Linked DNA regions of Homo sapiens: region 2 is linked to region 1. The links are contacts of gene promoters, found by promoter capture Hi-C in human tissues and cell types (Jung and others, 2019). All regions are on one chromosome and are shown on one strand. Each heading gives the region's core, a stretch centred on a gene start or on the middle of the fragment in contact. The rest is flanking DNA. Distances are from core to core; before and after follow the strand shown.

Evidence for each region. The method cuts DNA at HindIII sites, captures the fragments that hold promoters and counts their contacts. A contact is called where the count stands out against the background at its distance.
Region 2: a fragment that was not itself captured here is called in contact with the fragment with the promoter of OR9A2 in region 1 in 2 of the 25 tissues and cell types used here (liver and thymus).

Annotation. Positions count from the first base shown.
Region 1 is chr7:143,024,912-143,030,838 of GRCh38, reverse strand. OR9A2 (olfactory receptor family 9 subfamily A member 2) reads left to right here and starts at 3,707. Exons shown (of 1, transcript NM_001001658.1): 1 at 3,707-4,639. The coding sequence starts at 3,707. The coding sequence ends at 4,639. It overlaps LOC105375544 (a long non-coding RNA gene), which reads left to right. Exons shown (of 2, transcript XR_001745395.1): 2 at 1-1,579. The HindIII fragment of the contact is 7,003 bases long and covers 1-5,927 here.
Region 2 is chr7:142,808,684-142,814,610 of GRCh38, reverse strand. LOC105375541 (a long non-coding RNA gene) reads right to left here and starts at 414. Exons shown (of 2, transcript XR_001745392.2): 1 at 1-414. It also overlaps TRB and TRBV30. RefSeq lists a cis regulatory region at 5,010-5,901 and an enhancer at 5,023-5,927. The HindIII fragment of the contact is 4,455 bases long and covers 907-5,361 here.

The DNA.
Region 1 (5,927 bases), core at 2,458-4,957:
TAGCTTCAATACATCTGCATTTGACCCAGACATTCCAACTCTAGGGAATCTTTTTTTTCTTTTTCAGAAATATAATTGTTTATGTACTTACATGTATACGTACTTACTTTACTTACAAGTACATGTTTATGTACTTACAAATATCTAAGAATATTTATAGCATCATTTTTTCATAATTAAAAATGGAAACAACAATGAAAATTAATTAATAAATGTCTATCTAATAAAGAATAGGACATCCACATAATGGAATCCTATGTTAAAAAAAAAAGAGGTAGAGTAATATGTGCTGACATGGAAAGATATATTTTATATGTTGTTAAATGAGAAAGAAAAGGTTGCAAACAGATTTTCACAGCCTTTACGAAAAAGAATATGGAGATACATGCTTGGAAAATTTCTCTAAAATTATATGGCAAGTATTTGGGCTTGGGCAATTTAAGGAATTGGAAGAAAGATTAATCCCAATTTATACCCTTAGGCACCAATTGAAATTCTCAGATTTAACAGGTGTACTTAAAATACTTAAAATGAAAACAAAAATGCAGACAAATGTTTTGTAATTCCTACTTTTTCTGTCTTACTCCAGCATTAGACAGATTTCCAACTTACATTTTGTCAGTTCCTCCAGGTTGCAAACAGAACTGTGTACATAAGCTGTCCTTATGCTCTCTCTACTTTGCAGTGGTCCAGCTGGTAATCAGGGACATGCCATAGGAAAAAAAAAAGTCTGGAAGAATCTTGCTGGAATGCATACAGATGCACATATATCAAGAGGAGTGAAAACCTGAGACAATAGAACAGAATAGAGTTCGATTTAGGGGAGGGACCTCTTACAGTATTCTGTAGGGTCCACAGGACTAAACGCAGGAGCCTTTTTAAAATGAATGAAGGAGTCATCAGGCTTTTTAGAAGATATTTGGTGAAGTTAAGGCTTTGACCAAGACCAATATGCAGACTTTTTTGGGATATTGGTGCATGTTTTAGAGGCCAATTGTGGTGTCTCCTACTGGGGGAAAAGGGTTGATTTAGGCTCCGAATAACTAGAGAAACTTGAGAAAAGCCTAAGATAAACGACAGAGGTAGTTGACTGTTTAGAATCTGAGACATCTGGAAACCTAGACCTGAGGTTTTCAGGAAGGCAGCCCCAGTATTAAGAAGTCCCTGATTGGTAAGATTTCAGGTTTTCCCGTCAAACAAAAACTTTCAAAAGTTCTAAAACTTAATTGGTCAAAAAATGGGAATAACTTAAAGTTTGTTCTGCTCCCACTAGACTGATTGCCTGGGGACTCCCTGAACGTGGGCTAATTAAGAAGTAGTAACTCGGTGATTAAGTACCCTTGGGAAGAAGGGAAGAGGGAGGAGAGGGGAGAGAGAGAGGACCCTCAACTTTGCCCAACACTCATTTCTGGGCTTTTTCCTAAGCTCCTCTGGGAGGACATTTCCCTTCTTCGCCATGAGTGGGGATTGCAGCAACTTGTTCTGGCCCCTGTGCATGGCTCAGCACTAGCAGGACAGGAGGTAGCCTCAGCGGAGCCCTAGAGAACATCAGAAGAGGCGGCGAAGCCCCTCTGTAAAGGTGAGTGTCTTTCCAAGGGGTCTCCTCTATGAAGAAGAGGGTAAAAGCATTTTAGGATGGGACATCCTGGGCCTGCCTATCTTCTAGAACAAAGTCACCCAGATATTGAAGTGTGGGCTAGGGGAGCAGTAGAGTGTATAGGCTCATCTCCAGACCCTTCCTGCATAGCAGAGAGCACTTCCGGCTCCTCTTGGACCCAATGCTAACACAGTCACGGCTCCCTGACAGTCGGTGTCCTTCTCGCTCATGTTTCTTCATCTCGTGCTGGTTATGCAGAGGTTGTGGAAAACCAGAACACTGAGCTTTCCCATCAATTCTGTCCCTGAAGCTTTTTAAACCATTAGTAAAACAGTGACGTAGACAGGGAAGGGGTTACCTAAGCAAGGGAAGGGCAGGAGGGAAAATGGTAATGTGAGGCAGGAAGGAAAACCAACCAGAATAGGATTGAGGGAATGTGGCCCAGGCCCTGGCCAGAACAAGTATTATTTAATCATATATTATCCATCCATCCATCCATACCTCATCTAGCAAAATTTGTCAGCACTACTTATTTTATGTATATGATACATATATCTTATGTATTTAAATATCTTATAAATAAAAAATATATGTATATTTTATATAATATAAGATATATTTCATATATCTTATTTCATATATCTTATATAAATAAGATAAATAATATAAGATAATAATATAATATAAGGTGTGGTAGTTAGCTGTGTGAGTGATGAAATCTGACAGACCTAGGTTCAAATCTTGACTCACACAGCTATTAGTTCGGTTACCTTGTGATAAATTAATACATAATTTAATATATAAGATATATCTATGATATATTCATTTCACATAATGTATCTGTCTATATCTATATAAAAGATATATGATATATATATATAAAATATATAACTACTTAATTTATGTATGTACATTTTATGTGCCAGCCTCAGAATACAACAGTGAAGACATGTCCTAGCCCTCATGGAGTTTATATTCTAATGCCGTTGATAAATAATAAATACACTTAAATTTCCTCTCCTTCTTTCTTGCTTATTTTTTTCCCTGTGACATGATAAGCAAACTAAACTATTGCATATTTTACTTAGGTGTCTTGTGTGTGGTCTAGCCCCCACCTCTTCCTTGAATATAAGCTCCACAGGGCATGGAATTTTCTTTGTTCTGTTCATGACTACATTTGTTTATTGTTAAATAAAGGAATGAAGTAAATAATTAGACATAATACAAGGTAATAACAACTGTTATTAAAAAAATGGAAGTCCAATAATAAGTGTGTCTTTTCTGTTTTGGGCAGAGTGATTGGAAAGAGTCTTTGGAAAGGGTGACATTTGAATAATGGAATGAAGCGACAGGCAGAGAGCCAGGCATCCTTAACAGCTGGCGGTCCCAGATCTATTCCTTTTCTGTGCCAGGTGCCATCTTTCCTTCCTCCCACAACTTTGGAAGGAAAATGGAATTAGAGAAGAATGGATCTGTTCTGGGAAATTATCCCAAGCTCTAGAGTTCTCATTTAGAGATCTTGCTGTTCTGTAAAATGGAGATTTTAAAATCTGGAACAGCAGAGATGTTAGTCTTACATCCTCTGCCTCCTTTCTGCTGGCCCCAAAGGTGGGTCTATGCATTACCATTACAGATGAGAGCTGGGGTTTAAAATTCTGTCCTTTGAACATCATATAAAATGCCTTTGTGTCATCTTGCACAGTTAACCTAAGAGAAAGTAACTCCAGGACCGGAGGGACCTGATTGACTCACCTTTAAAACTGGCCTATTTAAAAGGTCTTAGCCTCTGCCCCCGAGAGAAGGTATATTTAATGGGGAAAAAGGCAAGGAAGGTATTTCACCACCAGTAGAAGAAGATGTCTTCACCCATTCTAGGGGGCTGGTTACACAGGGAAGTGAGAGCCTCACTTGTAGACTTGGGATGACAACATGTACCTCAAGCTATGTATGTGCCGACCACAGTAGCAGGGACATGTCACCTGATTCTCAGGTTGGAAATAGTTTCTTAACCTAATTTTTCTTCCTTCTCTCTTGAGAGCAGGACCATGTGGAGCAATGCCACCTCTCTTTTAATCTCTGGGCTTCAAAACAAGCAGAATCAAGGACTAAATGATGGACAACCACTCTAGTGCCACTGAATTCCACCTTCTAGGCTTCCCTGGGTCCCAAGGACTACACCACATTCTTTTTGCTATATTCTTTTTCTTCTATTTAGTGACATTAATGGGAAACACGGTCATCATTGTGATTGTCTGTGTGGATAAACGTCTGCAGTCCCCCATGTATTTCTTCCTCAGCCACCTCTCTACCCTGGAGATCCTGGTCACAACCATAATTGTCCCCATGATGCTTTGGGGATTGCTCTTCCTGGGATGCAGACAGTATCTTTCTCTACATGTATCGCTCAACTTTTCCTGTGGGACCATGGAGTTTGCATTACTTGGAGTGATGGCTGTGGACCGTTATGTGGCTGTGTGTAACCCTTTGAGGTACAACATCATTATGAACAGCAGTACCTGTATTTGGGTGGTAATAGTGTCATGGGTGTTTGGATTTCTTTCTGAAATCTGGCCCATCTATGCCACATTTCAGTTTACCTTCCGCAAATCAAATTCATTAGACCATTTTTACTGTGACCGAGGGCAATTGCTCAAACTGTCCTGCGATAACACTCTTCTCACAGAGTTTATCCTTTTCTTAATGGCTGTTTTTATTCTCATTGGTTCTTTGATCCCTACGATTGTCTCCTACACCTACATTATCTCCACCATCCTCAAGATCCCGTCAGCCTCTGGCCGGAGGAAAGCCTTCTCCACTTTTGCCTCCCACTTCACCTGTGTTGTGATTGGCTATGGCAGCTGCTTGTTTCTCTACGTGAAACCCAAGCAAACACAGGGAGTTGAGTACAATAAGATAGTTTCCCTGTTGGTTTCTGTGTTAACCCCCTTCCTGAATCCTTTCATCTTTACTCTTCGGAATGACAAAGTCAAAGAGGCCCTCCGAGATGGGATGAAACGCTGCTGTCAACTCCTGAAAGATTAGCTGTTCTGTAAGTCAGTTTTAGGTGGTCCAAGCCTCAGGGTTAATTATTAAGTCACCTAGAAAATTCTAACTCCTCTTTTCTCTTATCCTCTCATTACAAAAGTCAAAGAGTGTGTACAATTCGCCATCACACCATGGAAGTAGATTAGGCTGGTAATAATGAAATCCATTGTCTGTCCAGGAGACTCTCATAGCCTTAGTTCCTGCCTGTTTCCACTGTTGAACATATTCTTGTGATTTGGGGGGGACTAGAGAAAGGAAATGCAGACATTTTTGTAAGAATTCTATTAGCCCAACTCATTTCCTCATAGTCCATCTCTGAAAATGTATTTTCTGGGGAAGGGAGGAAGTGTGGAGGGAGGTGTACTGAGAAAGGTGTCCTAATCAGAGTAGAAAGGTAGAGATGCTCACTTTGGTCCTTCATCACCTGTTGCTAAGTTCTTCCCTATATTTTTGTGCAATTTTTTGGCAAGATGGCCATATGCATTTTAGATATCCTAAAGCTCTTTCTCTCTGCCCCATTGATACTGGAAAGGAAGTGTAACACTGTTTACGTTTTGTCACAGAACCAGTCTAGAATGGCGATATGAGGATTGGAATGCTTCTCATTCAGGAGATATTTGTGGTGTAAAGAAGATAAAAATATTTGAGGATAAAAATGGAGGAAAATTTATTTTTGTTAAGCTTCAGCATATTCCTTTCACTGCCCTTCTTTGTGGTGAGTATAGGGACAGGGGCAAATAAGAACTAAATGACTAATTCTAGAGAGCATCCTGTATTTTATGGCTGTTAAACACAACTATGTCTGTTCAGACTGTATCCAGATCTAGACTTCAAACTTTATAATGTCTTTTGATTCTCCGTCTCTCAAATCCAACAGTCTCAGTACCATCATGTGTATCTTCTCTGTGGGCAGAATTTTTTAAAAATAAGAGGCCATTCTTTTGACTCCCGGCTTTCTAGAAATTATAGGGATTGGCTGTTTGGTAGTGTAACTGTTGGAATTTCACATAATATTGGAAGAAGTCCTTATAAGGAAGAAGTTTACCTAAACAACAACAATCAGCAGATTCTACCAGCCCTAAAGTAAGTGAGAAAATTGAGCTGTTCAGCAGTGGGATGATGAGGCTACTGAGAATTTTGAAGAGTACTGTGTGAGGATGCCAGGTTGTCTTGTCCTGTGAGGAGTGATAACCGTCATGTATGTTTGGGTAGTTTGCATTGCATTAAAGTACCAGACAAGGTGGGGAATGAGCTTTAAATTCAGCCAGCCCATGCTCTGCAAGCC
Region 2 (5,927 bases), core at 1,885-4,384, 220 kb after region 1:
TGGGAAAGTGTTACAAATGCTTTATTTGCTTAAAGCTTATTCTCCCTGTTCAGCCACTTTTACGGCTTTCTTTCCTGGGTTTTCATCTCAAACCGCTCCACCACATCCAACCCAAACTAAGTAATTGTTCTGAATATGAATCCTTCAGAATACAGAGCATGGCAAAGACAGAGGGAAGAGGAGTTTCCAAGGGTGTGCTGGTGTCCTCCAGGCATCTGAAGGTCTTTTGTCCCATTTCAGCAGAATGACATTTTAGCAGCTACCTAGCAGAGTCCCATGCTTAGCTATTATGAATCCTTACTATTATGAATTCGTGGCTTGACTGTGTTTTTTGTGGCTCGTGATCCCTTCAGCCCCTACCTTCCACCCCATGCCATTGTAAATCTCCCAATCTTTGCTGCAGACATAGGGAGTCAAAAAAAAAAAAAAAAAAAAAAAAAAAAAAAAGCCAACATATGTAAGAGTGCCTGCCTGCAGTGCACCAGGCAAAATGCATCTTTCAACAATTTTTAGATATTGTCATCATTATTTTCACTTTATAGATAAGAAAATTGAGAATCAGGGTTTGCTTGAGAGTTCCCAAGCCAGCAAGAAGCAGAGCTGTGAAATGAACCCAAATCCATATGATTCCAAGTCTCTGTGATGTTTCCTATTACTCATATTGCATTTAGAGGATAAATTAGATCTAGTTGGCCCATTAGAGACACATGGAGCAGATTCCAACTTTGATCAGTTCAGGAGTTAATTATGCCTGTCCAGGTCTCAAAATCTGTCTGCCAGGGATGAAGATTATGCAGGCGATCCCTTTGGCTGTCATAGAAGCTTCCTGCCCTCAGAACTGAGCATTTCTGCTTTGATTACCCCAAAATACCTGAATCTCTTGAGCCCTATCCTTTCATCTCCCAGGTAACATGTCTAGCTCTAGTTTCCAATTTCAGATAAACTAAAATCTTTTTTCATCCTTCTATCAGTATCACAGTTTCTCTGAAGCTTTCCCAGGCTTCTGATGTCTCCCGGGGGAGCTGGAGAGTTACCTTTAGTTTACAGGTAAATAATGAGTCATTAAATATATTTACATACCAGGATGTCAGCAGGAATGCAAAGAAGATAACAAGTGCAGAGTATAGCTGGTTCCCAGGGAGGCTGGGGGTGATTCACCACACTCTTAAAAGAAGACTAGCCTCATTTCCTCCCCAGCTCATGGGGTAGGATTCCTCTGCTCTGGCAGCAGATCTCCCAGAGGGAGCAGCCTGACCACATCACTGGCCCAGAAGAGGAGGCGTCTGTCCCCCAGACTAGCTGAAGGAAAGGCTGGCTTGGATGATGCTCTGCTCTCTCCTTGCCCTTCTCCTGGGCACTTTCTTTGGTGGGTGCCCTCCTCTCTGGCAAGCCTCTTTTCTCATCCTCACCCTCACCCCAATCCCGTGAATGCAGAGTCTGAGCTGTTGGTTTGACACTCTTGAGTCTATTCCTGATTGTCTGGAACAGATATGGGAATTTAGCCTTAGGGGCTGATCTGATGATTCTTAGTTCTCTCTATCTCCTGAGAAGGAGTTCGTTCTGTTGGTCTTCCCTGGCCCAGGGATGCTTTGCATCCTTGGCTCCCCCAGTCTACTCCCCATGATGGATTCCAGGTGCCTGTGTCATGCAAGAGCTTGAGCTGCCCCTCTGTCTGGGGAAGGCAAGCCAGGCTGGGGTGCTCCTCTGTAAATGGCACTTTATCTTTCCCACAGGGGTCAGATCTCAGACTATTCATCAATGGCCAGCGACCCTGGTGCAGCCTGTGGGCAGCCCGCTCTCTCTGGAGTGCACTGTGGAGGGAACATCAAACCCCAACCTATACTGGTACCGACAGGCTGCAGGCAGGGGCCTCCAGCTGCTCTTCTACTCCGTTGGTATTGGCCAGATCAGCTCTGAGGTGCCCCAGAATCTCTCAGCCTCCAGACCCCAGGACCGGCAGTTCATCCTGAGTTCTAAGAAGCTCCTTCTCAGTGACTCTGGCTTCTATCTCTGTGCCTGGAGTGTCACACTGAGCTGGGTGGGGCAGACATCTGTGCAAAAACCCCACCCTCTCCTGAGCCCTAACCATACTCCCCAGGGGCCTTCACTTAGGGACTGGGTGGAGGATATTTGTAAGTAGGTTTCTGACTGCTGGCCAATGTGAAAGCAATGGAATAAAGCGAGAATTCTACAAAAGACTCTACTAAGTTCTCAGGGAGAACAAAAAATTGTATGTGTGCAGAACCTGTGATTTGCCTGCACATAGTCAAGTTCTCAATGTATGGATGTCCCGGCCCAGGCTACCATACTCCAGCCCTCAAGGTGTGCTATACCTTGCCTGATTTTCTAGTCTTCCAAATTCTTCTATGTGTGCCGTGGGGAGGGGGTTTGTGCATATATGGCTGAGAGAAAGGATATACCTGTGGCAGGAGGTGAGCTGGTGAACAAACGGGAGGATGCCAACCCAGGTTACTTAATTGGTTAATTTCATCACCTGGAGAGTCTCCTGTCATTGATCTTTCTGCTGAGACTAGAAATTATGGGGAGGCTTAGACCTGAGGCTTTGAGTCAGGCAAAGAGGCAAGATGTTCAGGAGACTGTTCTCATTCGAGGCAGAAGTGTGGTTTTGTTAGTATAGGTAACATGCACTTAGGCCAGACGTGGTAGCTCATGCCTGTAATCCCAGCACTTTGGGAGGCTGAGGCAGGAGGATCACCTGAGGTCAGGAGTTTGAGACCAGCCTGGCCAATATGGTGAAACCTGTCTCTACTAAAAGTACAAAAATTAACCGGGCGTGGTGGCAGGCGTCTGTAATACTAGCTACTTGGGAGGCTGAGGCAAGAGAATCACTTGAACCTGGGAGGTGGAGGTTGCAGTGAGCCAAGATCATGCCACTGCACTCTAGCCTGGGTGACAGAGCGAGACTCTGTCTCAAAAAAAAAAAAAATAAAAATAAGCTTGCACTTAGAAATTTTGGTGATGTTTGAGGTTTTAAAAAATGTCCTGTTGTACTATCTTGTAGCCCTTCCTTTGTAGCAAAGACAGACAGATGGTGATCCAAGAGATACGCAAGAAGAGGACCGTGTGTGTAATGGTTGAGCTCTAAAAAAGAGAAATCACTTGGATGGAAATGAAGGAGAGGAAAAGGCTGATGTGGATGGCTGGGAAGAGGTTCGATGGTTACCTTGGCAACTGAGCTTCCTTCCTCATCCCCATCCCTCCCTAGTCCTTGTTCTTAAAAAGATTTTCTTTCTAATGTCCCTTCCCCTCCACAAGGGGGCACAAGATGTCTTAAAATACTCCATTCCGGGCATCATTTAACCTAGATCAATCCAGACACGTGCATATTTCTAGTATCATTTAATCTGAAGTGGAAAATCTGAGATGTAGACACAGAGTGATCAAGAACATATGGAATAATGCCCAGGGGTCCCTACTGAACTTTAAGGATCACCTATGTATTAAGCAGCTATTATTTGCTGGACACAGTGAGTCATTTTGAGGATTAAAAAGAAAAATAAAATGTACTCGAGATGGTGTTGGGCACAGTCATAGCATGATTTAGTCAAAGCACTTGATTTTTGTAGTCTAAAAATTTGCTAGTTGTTATGAACTTGACCTAGTTATTTAATTTTACTAAGTTTCAAGTTTTTCCCCACCTATAAAACTTGCCTCATTGAATTGTTATGTGTATTAAATGAGATGGTGTTTATAAAGCCCTATTACAAGCTCTAATTTTCAACAGGTATTATTTTCCGCTCCTTAAGCTTACAAGATTATTTTCATTACAACTTACCCAAGAGGAAGACTTAGTTAAAAAATTTCAAATCATAAACTACAAGTATGTAATAAATATTAATATTTAAAATGCTAAACATGCTTGGATGGCAAAACCATGAAACTTGAACCCTATGCTGTGCCTATTCAGATGCTGATTCTGTAGGGGCTTTATACAGCTTCAGAATCCTCATTAATAGAGAAATGTCTCAGGCAATCACCACTAGTCAAGTAGAATTAGTAGAGACTTGAGGCAGATTTTTCCTTCCTGTAATATACTGCAAAAATTCTGGAAAACTTCACAAAGGACATAAAATTGTAGCTAAGTTTAGCTCTTTAGGAGGCTAATAGTTATATAAGCAAAATGACATTGCAAGCAGGAGAGTCAGTTTGTGTAGAAATGTGCAGGTCTATGTGAATATTGTAAGTTTTAGAGAATCTGAAGAAAAAAAGTCCTGATCATTGCACAGAGCATCCTAGAGACAGGTGAGCATTGAAGGAGAGGCTTGAAAGCCACCTAAATTCAGCAGAACAAATTAACATCCTCCATGTTATCTGCTCTTATTCATGCAAGACTGTTCATTCCCATAACTGTTTCCATACCATCTAGGACTCAGAAATCCACAGTCATTATAATTCCAGGGGACAAAGGAAAGCAGTTTAGGATGACCGATCCTGTTCAGACATGCTGTCTCTTGCCAATAATTCATCAAACTCACTTGCCCCTTTAATCAGATGAGGCTGTCTCTTTTCTAGGAGAGCTTCCAGGATTTGCATCTGATTTTGCAGATGTGCAGGATGACTATTTCCATATATCTCCTTCCCTGGCCAGTTGCACATGGAAGATTCAGGGCCACATGCTGGTGGCCAGAGGCACTCTCCCCAAGATGCTTCTCATAGATCTCAGCCACCCATGGGACTTATAAGGAGATACCCTTGTGCCTCTAAATAGATCTCAGCCACCCATGGGACTTATAGGGAGTCACCCTGGGGCCTCTGGACAGCTTGAGTAAGATGAAGAATGCCCGGGGTTGGGAAGCTGGTAATACTAAAATTAGGCGACTTCTTATTTTTGCCCAGGATTCAGTGGTTTGGGATAAGAATGCTACAATCCCTTGAGCTCCTGCAGAGCAGGCTTGACCTATTATATACCTGGTAATTTCCCACTACTTACTTTGGGGGTTTCTGCCTCTCTAGTTTTTCATTCTGTCTTGCATTATGTTCTTCTAAGATGTGTTAGAAAATATTCATCACACAGACCTTACAGGCTTTAGCAACTACAGGAAAAAACTACGAGGAGCCAGTCAATGCAGTGCACAAACACTGGCTCAGACATCCAGGGACTGTCCGTTTTGCAGTCTGTTGGTTATCTAGGGCTACCTCTCCTGTGACTCATCAGCACCTCTCATTACATGAGTGGAAGGAAGTGGGAGGATACATGTGGAGGGAGGTGGAAGGGAGTTTGGGGGGCAGGTGGGAAGAGAGAGTTGCCTGAGTGATGTGGGACCAGAAGGGATCCCAACTGGGTCAGAGCAGTTATTGCAGCTGTTTTTCATTCTCCACTATCTTCATGGTGCCCACTGTGGCCTTTGATCTTGTGCATAACCTCCAGCAGGTGTAAAGATGTGTTGGGGGAGGGGAGGCCTGCACATGGATCTGGGATACCTAGATTCCCCTCTAGAGACCCTGCCCCTCCCCTCTGAAGTTCTATTTCTACTGCCAGGATGCTAACCAGGGGCCCAGGTAGAAAGAGCAGCATAGGAGGGGGTTGGGTGCCGGATGCGGTGAGTGTGGTTCTCATGATGCTCTGAAGGTGGGTGGGTGGAGGGAGCAACTTTCACAGGCACCCCAGATGCAGGACCCAGTAAATGTCAAACCACATCCTGTTGTGACTGTAAGAGATGGAGCTAGGGCAGGTGGCTGCTGTGGCTTGGTGCTGATGTGACTCAGAGATAAACAGCCCGGCAGCCAGCACTGGGCTCAGAACCCCCATTCCTACCCCAGTTGTCAGCTATTACCTAAAAGACCCCGATTTACATCTCATTACTTCCCACCTTTTGATTCAGGGCCACTCTCCTTTTTAACACAATTTTCTTGTCATTCATGGCCCTAGACCTTTTTGATGGAGGAGGGCCAGGGAACAGGTGTCA